2 separate regions of the Homo sapiens genome follow, and region 1 is linked to region 2. The links are contacts of gene promoters, found by promoter capture Hi-C in human tissues and cell types (Jung and others, 2019). All regions are on one chromosome and are shown on one strand. Each heading gives the region's core, a stretch centred on a gene start or on the middle of the fragment in contact. The rest is flanking DNA. Distances are from core to core; before and after follow the strand shown. Region 1 has its middle 110 kb from the start of LINC01747. Region 2 holds the start of CST8 (cystatin 8).

Evidence for each region. Contacts are between HindIII fragments. The study calls those that stand out against the background at their distance.
Region 1: a fragment that was not itself captured here is called in contact with the fragment with the promoter of CST8 in region 2 in 2 of the 25 tissues and cell types used here (small bowel and spleen).

The regions. Positions count from the first base shown.
Region 1 is chr20:22,790,532-22,795,288 of GRCh38, reverse strand. No RefSeq gene overlaps it. Among named protein-coding and RNA genes, the nearest start is that of LINC01747, 110 kb to the right of the region's middle. The HindIII fragment of the contact is 6,670 bases long and covers 1-4,757 here.
Region 2 is chr20:23,487,872-23,492,645 of GRCh38, reverse strand. CST8 (cystatin 8) reads right to left here and starts at 1,529. Exons shown (of 4, transcript NM_005492.4): 1 at 1,304-1,529; 2 at 748-1,121. The coding sequence starts at 978. RefSeq lists an enhancer at 1,565-2,065. The HindIII fragment of the contact is 12,460 bases long and covers 1-3,065 here.

The DNA of each region.
Region 1 (4,757 bases), core at 713-3,212, 700 kb after region 2:
AACTCAAAATGGTCATCATAGCTCAGTATCTTGGGCCTTAAAACTGCTCACCTCTATATGAATGTTCCCCAGTACTCAAGACCTCAATCCAATCAATTCATCTCCAAACTCCGGCAATTCTATTTTCTGTTTCTTGAATTGGTCACTTTCCTTCATCATAATTTCTGCTACCACCACCCCTTGGTGAAGCTACTCCCAACTTTTGCCTGAATTAAGGTGACCCCACCCTTCTATATTCCTCTTTGTGGCTTTCTATTATTGTCTTAGGATAAAGTCCAGTTTCCCTAATCTGGTGTCTGGGGCTCCTAAGACTTGTCCCTACCACCTTCCCAGCTTCCTGCCTGGATGTTCTTTAATGAGATGCCACAGCAGCCACACCACAGACTCCTTTCAGTTGCCAGCATGCACTTGGCTGTTCTTTCACCTGATGCCTTTGCACACAGTGTCCCCCCGACTCCTCTTCCCCACTGCACTTCTGACCCTTGGCTTCTAGTCTTTTCCTTCCCCTTTTCAGTTGTTCTGTTGGTTTTCCCTTTTCCCTCCATAATCAGCTTCTCTTTTCTAACTATGCTCACTCTCCAGGTGATGTCATTCAGCCTCAGCACTTTAAAAAACATCTATACATTAATAACTCTCACTGTTATTCCCTTGCTAACTCCCACTTGTCCCTTAGGTCTCAAGTTCCACATCACTCTCTCTAGGATGCCTCCTTTAATTCTTCAGGACTGAGGTTTGGAAAAACCTCCAATTTTCCTCAGTCCCCACACTCACCCTTAACATGACACATTGTGTCATAATTGCAGTCTGCCTTGACCATGTGATATGCTGTATAAAGGCAGAGGCTCCATTTTATTCTTTGTTCTAGCACGGTTCCCAGCTCATAGGATATGCCCAGCAAATATTTGTTAAGTTGATGAATGAGATAACCTATTTTTAAGCCAAGTCACCTGGCAGGTTGTCAAGCAAAAGAGTATGCACTCTTGGAAAGGGTGGGGAACTATGAAGGAATGAAAATGTCCCCAGTGCCCTCTCTAAGAAGCAGGAAAGAGATTACACAGAGTGAGCCCCTGTTCTTCTTTCTCATCTAGAAAAGGATCACATTATCCTTAAAGCCATTTAGGAAATTCCTGAATACTGAAAAAATATGTGAAAGAAGAGAGCTCAGAGAAAGCAGCAGAAATTAGTTCTGCCTCTTAGCCCCCATTCACAAAGCAGGGATCTCAAAATTACCTACTACTATTTATCTAAGCTCTTAGATTTTTGTTAGAAATGCCCAGTTTCTCTAGAAATTAAATGTCAGAGTTGGCTGGACTTGAAGTTGACCAATTCCTGGAGCAGTTTTAATGTACAAATAATGGAACTTAGGAAGAAGTTGTATATTTAAAATACATATTTGCAAAGTCATTGTAAAGCACCTTTAAAATATGTGTTAACTGTTTTTTAACTGATTTTTGGGTCTTAGACTTCTGCACTATAAGCTTTGCACCAAAATACATTCCTAGGATAAAGAAATATCAGTTACACCATCAGAAAAGCTGCTCACTTTTTTCTACTTGACCCAAAGTCTAGGCAAAAGTGCCAGAGAGTTGGATTGACACAGGGGATTAAGGGAGTCCTGAGAAAATGTGTTTCCCTCCTCAAGTGATAGCTGTGGGAGGGTAACTGGACTACTCCAGGAAGTGAGTCTCCTCATCAGCCACCATCAGGGAGAGGAGGTCTTCCCGTGGTGATTGTGTTAGGCTGTTCTTGCGTTGCTGTAAAGAAATATCCGAAACTGGTAATTTATAAAGAAAAGAGATTTAATTGGCACACCGTTCGGCAGGCTGTACAGAAAGCATGGTGCCAGTATCTGCTTGGCTTCTGGTGAGGCCTTAGGAAACTTACAATCATGGTGAAGGCAAAGTGGAAGCATATGTATCACATGGTGAGAGCAGGAGCAAGAGAGCCAGTGGGGAGGTGCCATACACTTTTAAACAAACAGACGTCACAAGAACTCACTCACTACCACAAGGACAGCACCAAGAGGATGGTGTTAAACCATCCGTGAGAAATCTGCCCCCATGATCCAATTAGCTCCCACCAGACCCCACCTCCAACACTGGGGATTACAATTCAAAATAAGGTTTGATGGAGACATCCAAACTGTTATCAGTGATTCTGACCTTAATGCCTGGAGGAACACATGGCCTGCCTCACACCAGAAGACAAGAGACCTTTACAAAGATGTCCTGAGAGCCATGTTCTGCTGATGAATTCTGCACCTGCAGCCGGCATTGCTTCCTAGATTCAACCTGAATGCGGGGCTTCCATTTGGTTCCTTTTGTGCCTGGTTCTCAGCCAATACTTATGGTTTCACTACAACTAATAATTTCCATTTTGTATGAATAAAAACAGCACTTAGGATGATAAATGTTTATTGAAAGACTCAAATTTTCATTTACTCTACAATCCTGCAAAATAGTCATAGTATGCCCATTTTAGAGGTAAAATTATTCTCAAAGAGGATAAGTGACTTGTTCAAGATTATGTAGCTATAAATAAAGTAGTAAAGCAAAATTATTTAGTAACATATAGAATGCTAACTAACAATAAAATGTGTAACAGGAGTGCTCCTTTTTCATGGGGTTTCATTCTACACAGAGGATAATTAGCCTCTTAGACTCCCCACCCCTGTCCCTCATCCCCGGATTTCATATTCTCCTGTTCTTACTGGAGCACACATCAACCATGAAAATTTCTTGGGGAAAGTCCTGAAAACTCCAAAACAAGAGCCCTTTGAAATCTCCCATGATCCTTCACTCAGCAGTTAGACATTCACTTGACCTCACTCTATTCTGAATTCTCTTTAGGGCTCAAAACTTGATGGCTATGTTTCATATGATGTTGATCCCAGGCTTTTATGAAAACTTCCTCAAGATGTTGGGTAAGACGTTACTACTTCCAAGAATCTGTCTCCTGTCTGAGCAAAGAAGGCCTTGAATTCTTTTCCTGCAGGGGATCTGAGCTTGGCTCATGCAGTTAGAGTAGGATGAGGGACTTGCATTACTAAGGGTCTGGCTTGCACACAAAGAGAGAGAAGCTGACGGCCTGTGGCAGCCCTCAGGAAGTTATCATGAGGTGTGCGAGTGGGGGAGTCTGATTTCAACCCTTCTTTGCACAGGTAAGGAAAGGGAGATGACAATGCAAAATGACTCATCCACCACCAACAACAACTTGGAGGCAGAATTAGGCTCAGAGTTCCAGAAACTGTACTTCCCACTGCATGCTGGTGACAGGCTCACACTTGGGACTTGACCTGTTGAGGTTACTTTTTTCCCTGCATCAGTCAAGATATCATTGCCTTAGCAACAATATGTTTGGTCATTTGTTATGGTTATTGGTAGAATATTTTTACTTTTTTCTTTCTACTGGATCACTCCCAACATCATGCAAACATCTGGTGATTTCTCTTATCTTGAGAAAACCCTGTCTTAGCCCTATATTCCCCTACAAGTGCCACCTCATTTCCTTGCTGTCCTTTAAAAGAAATCTCACTTTATCTTCCCATTTTCTCTTGAGTATGCTCAAACAAAGGATATTCGAGTCAACTTGAGATGCCCCTGCCACTCAATCAATCATGTCCTACTTCTGGAGCTCCAGGCACTGTTTTAGACACTGGAGACAAATTAGTCTTTTGCTGATGACATCCATGCTACTAAATCCACAGCCAGGGCCCTGTTGTCACCTTCTTGGCCTGTCGGCATGAGCTAGTGCAGTGAGTCATGCCCTGCTCCTCAGCATTTCTGACCCTCGCATATATCTCCTGCACATCTATATTTATGTTCTTAGGAGATGTTCTTGGAAATGGAATTATTATTACTATGTGAGAAGTTACCAACATTCATTTTCTTAGCAAAAGGTAAAGCCGAATCAATACTACGTATTTGGAGAAAACTTAAATTCTAAGACATGTTCTCAAGACAGTGTAGACTTACCCTAATCTCCACAGCTGTCTATAGCTATGATACAATAACACCTTATGAATCAATGTATAATAAGGTTCTGTGTGGATTCAATAAGGTCACCATGGATTCAATTTTCTTCACTATGTGAATAAAAGCAAGAAAACAAATATTTGCATTTAGAAATAACTCTTACCTCACAAGCAGGAATAAGTAGGGTTTTCTAATGCTCCTTGGTAAGGAAGTATGAGGTCAGAAAGGCTGGGTCCAGCTCTTCCTCAGCTACTTATTAGATCTACAGCCATGAAAGAGTGATGACTCCTTGGCATCTCAGTTGTCCTTATCTTAAATGACGAGGTTGGACCAAATGGCCAAGGAGCAAAATTTTCGTTCAGCTATGAGAGGCTATGAGTCTACCAGAAATGATAATTTTCAAAAGCAACTCATTTGGTTTCTTCTACAGTTGAGTCCACATCAACCCAGTAATTCCACTATTAGACATTTACCCAAGAGAAACAAAAGCATATATCTGCAAGAACTCTTGCACCAAAATTCTCATGGTAGACTTGTTTGTAACCAACTCAAAGGACAAGCCATCCAAACATCTCTCAAGTGAATATACTCATGAACTCCTACTCAACCATAAAAAATAACTACTGATGCATACAACATACATAAATATTAGAGACACATTGAGTGAAAGAAGCTTAGCACATACTGTATGAATCCATTCACATGAAGTTGTAGAAATGAAAAACATAATCTTTTGGTGCTTGAAGTCAGACCATGGTTGCCTTGGGTTGGGACAGTGGATGC
Region 2 (4,774 bases), core at 280-2,779:
GAGGACTGAGAGGTGAAAGGTGGGCTCTTCAGAACCATCAGCTCTCCTGGGCCTGAGATGCTCAGGTTCACACAGGCCTGACCAGGGGACAGCCCCCTCAGCCACATTAGGCCCCAGTCCCTCAGATTCCTGTGAAACCTCCCATCCTCTGGGGTTTCCCCACCCAAAGCCCCTCCCACCAGCTCAGCACACAGTCCATGAGGACCCATGCAGGCATGAGTTTGCCTGTCTTGTTCTCTGCTGAGTCTTTAGTGAGTAGAACAGCAGTAGGTTTATAGCAGGACATTAGTATTTGTTGAACTCATTAGTGACTGAATGCAATCAAGGCTACTTGTGATGTCCATTTAAATCTGTTTTCATCTGGCATTAAAGGATTACAGCAGGAGATGAAGGAGTGTCTGCTAGTTGGGTCCAGGTTCACCTGGACTCACCTTTATCAGATCTTTTCTCATGGCTAGCATTCTATCTGTCTCCCAACCTTAGCAAATACATGAACATTTGATTTGCAGTTTGGGGTTTAAATGAGTTAATCTATGCGAAGGACTTAGAACAAAAGCGCAAGCGTTTGTAGAAAGTGCTCTGTGTGTTCACTGCCTTATTGATGCTGTGGAAGTGTCTAGGCTCTTAAGCATTCACATATTTAGGATTTTTGCATAGTGATATTTTTCTTATATGCCCACTCTTTCAGTCTGGCTTCAACTGTGCCACCATATGCAAATGTCCACCTATATGGAAAGACACCTTTACCTGAAGCTGGGCTTGCAGTGTCTTGACCACCAGGAAGACATACTTGTCCTCGCTCTCTTTGTTGTATTCTTGCATGGCAAACCACAGACACTGCTTCACGTTGGCATTTGAGGCATTGACGGGTTTTAATTTCCTCAGCACCCCTGTCTCATTCTTTTTTGGGTCTTTCCTGGCCACCAGGGCCAGGGGAATGGTGAGGAGGATCAGGGAGAGCCACCGGCACCTGGGCATGGTCCCTTGGGCAAGAGGCAAAGTCGACTCTCCTCCTCGTCGTCTCAGGGCTGGAGCTGTGGGCAGGATGGGGTGGCCGCAGCTGCTGCTGTGGGTTCAAGAATCTTCGAGCCACACACTGCCTCCTGTTAGCGTCAGCCCAGCTGGATTCAAGACAGGCCATTAGGGTCACTCTTTGGGGTTTGTCCTCTCTTTCTCCATGGAAACCCACCCAGGAATGCCAGTTAAGGAGTCTCTCTACCAGCCTCCCCTCCTTACCCTGAGAGCAATCTGTGTGTCTAGGGAGAGTTCCTCTCCCCTTCGGCCCCAGTGTGTCTATGCCTACCCCTGTGAGCGTCACTCTTGTTATCTGCTTCTCAGTCCTGTATGATGTGATCATGAAAACTGTGGCTGCCCCAGAGGCCTTGTGGCCTCAGCCCTTGGTGGACTTTCAGCCTGCTGTGCCTGCAGCTCCTTCTTACTCCCTGTGGAGCTGGGAGCTGACCTGACCAGTGGTTCTCCTAGGTCTTCAGCACTCTTAGTTCATGCCTGTGGCCCAGTCAAGGGTCTCTGTGGGTCCTGGTCTGCGGTCTCTCTTGCCCCTCTGAGTCCACGCCCTGCAGGGAGGTTACGCTTTGTGATGTAATTCAGCACCTGTGTCTTGTCCCAGTGAGGACATCTCCCACTTGCCAGCCTCCGGCCTTTGGTCTAAACAGCTCTCACAGGGGCACAGAGAGCAAGCAAATGCCTCCTGCTGTGCCCTCAGAGTCAGGGGCCTGCAATGGTTAATACTGAGTGTCAACTTGATTTGATCGAAGGACACCAAGTATTGATCCTGGGTGTGTCTGTGAGGGTGTTTCCAAAAGAGATTAACATTTGAGTCAGTGGGCTGGGGAAGGCAGATCCACCTTTAATCTGGTGGGCACAATCTAATCAGCTGCCAGCGAATATAAAGCAGGCAGAAAAACGTGAAAAGGAGAGATGGTCCTAGCCTCCTAGTCTACATCTGTCTCCCATGCTAGATGCCTCCTGCCCTCGAACATCAGACTCCAAGTTCTTCAGTTTTGGGACTCTCAGACTGGCTCCCCTTGCTCCTCAGTTTGGCAGACAGCCTGTTGTGGGCCCTTGTGATCATGTAAGTTAATACTTAATAAACTCCCTTTTATATACATATTATTTATATATATAATTTATGTATATTTTATATATATATAATTTATATGTATATTTTATATATATACAATTTATATATATATTTTATATATATAATTTATATATAATTTTTATATATAAATTATATATATTTTATATATAATTTATATATATAAATTATATATATTTTATATATAATTTATATATATAAATTATATATATTTTATATATATAAATTATATATATTTTATATATATATAATTAATATATATATAATTTATATATATATTATATATATAATTAATATATATATAATTTATATATATATTATATATAATTAATATATATATAATTTATATATATATTATATATAATTAATATATATATAATTTATATATATATTATATATATAATTAATATATATATAATTTATATATATATTATATATATAATTAATATATATATAATTTATATATATATTTTATATATATATAAAGGGGAGTTTATTAAGTATTAACTTTATATATATACACAACCATATATATCCTATTAGTTCTGTCCCTTTAAAAGAACCCTGACTAATACAGGGCCCCTCTGGCATCTTCTGCCCACCTGTGCCAATGACTCTGGCTTCCTGAATGCCTGGCCTCTGAACTCCCTTGGCTTGGGCCAACAGTAACCCCCTGCCCTGTCCTGCCAGGGTAAGGGTCACGTGGCCCACTCTGATGCCCAGGCCTGGCCCTTAGTGGGAGGAGGGGGGCACGCACCTGTTAAGCTCTCAAAGCTTCTGCTTTTCTGTGAAAATCCCAAATCAGTGTCCAGAAAGTTCCTGGTGAGGCAGAGAGGTGAGCATTCTTCCTAGGCTGCAAAGATCAATGGGTTCTATGAGCAAGGGCAACGTACAGAAAACACATATGGGGCAGGAATCTGTCAGGCAGGTGGCAAAGCATTGCAGACTACAAATGCATTATGCTGTATTTAAACTTTCTCCCTATGACTAGATTCTTCAGTTTCTCATTTTCAGCTGTTACAAACAGTATTGCAGTGAACAATCCCTTTCCAATATCTTCATGATGTTACACAAGTGTTTTTGTAAAATAAAAGACTAGATGTAAAATTGATGCAAAGCTTTACGCAAATTTAAATTTATTATTTATTGCCAAAATGTTCGTCACTTACTAATTATATATTCATGATTTTCAAATCCTGCTGCATGTTAAAAGTACTGACGGAGATTTAAAACACCAGGGCATACCTAACTGATAAAATCAGAATCTCTGGAACAGGGTCCAGGAAGCCAGCTGTTTTTAAAGTTCCCCAGGGGTTCCAATCTGCAGCCAAGTTTGAAAATCAGTGTAGTGGATCTGCACTTCCTGATATTAATGTGCACATGAACCACCTGGGACTCTCGTTAAAATGTAGGTGCTGAGTTTGTGGGTCTGAGGCAAGGCCTAGATTCTGCATTTCTAACTAGCTCCCCATGTGATCCAAATTCTGCTGATACTCAGATCCCAGTTTGATTAGAGAAGTATTGACCTGTGACAATCCCTGCTTCTTCATATCTTTGCCTTCAGCCTAGCCTTTCTTCATGGAATAGATGATTATGTTCCGTTTATTTGATTTGTACTATTTGTATTATTGGTCAGGGTTAACCATGTTTTCATAGAGACTCACTGAGTCTAGGAGCACCTGATCTGGGCCCCAGGAGGCATGTAGAGCAGACTTCCCCTTGGTGAGGCCAGCTGTGACACCCTGAAGCAAAGCCAAGCCTCCTGGACAAGCCAAGGAGAAGTCAGCCTGTAGACCTATGTCCCTGAAAATGAAGCCTTACTGTAGTTAGCTACAGGATAGGGGTGGTTTGTTATGCAGCACTTCTGGGCCAACAGCTGACTGCTACACACACATTCACTGAATCAAAGCAGTATTTCTAGGTTTTAGACTTTGGAGAAGTATGTGGTGGTGGTTGTTAACTAGGTAAAAGATCCAAATCGTATATCTTTAACACTTTTATGCTCCTTTGGCCTTCACAAGCATCCACACTCACATGCACACACACACGTGCACACACACACCATCATCATGTTGATATTACTCAGAAATTTTTGATTTGGGCTTTCTCTGAACATACTCAGAGAGCTGCTCCAGTTACTTTGCACACTTTTCAAGCAGGAGTAAATCCTCACTGCTGCATGCTATCAATTATGAGGCTGTTTCTTACGTAGCACAGCTTATCTATACCAAACCTTTATACTTGAGGTCTTTTGTTTTCCTTTAATTTTAGAAAATATATCTCCATAATTTCTTCAAATATTTCCATCTTTTTATTTTTCTTCCATTTTGAGATTTCTATGGTCTTTTGGGGGAAGTAGTTGCAGGGCTTTTTGTTTGTTTCCAGCTTTATTGAGGCATAATTAACAAATAAAAAGTTATATAGAGGGTGCACGTGTGATGCTTAGACAGATAGATAGCAAAATGATTATCACAATCAAGCAAATTAGCATATTCATCCCCTCATATAGTTACCTTTTTTTTAATGGTGAGAACAGCTGTGATCTACTCCCTTAGCGAACTTCAAGTATACAATACATTATTATTAACTGCAGTCACCATGCTGCACATGAGGTCTCCAGAACTCATTCCTCTTACAGTTGAATGTTTGTACCAG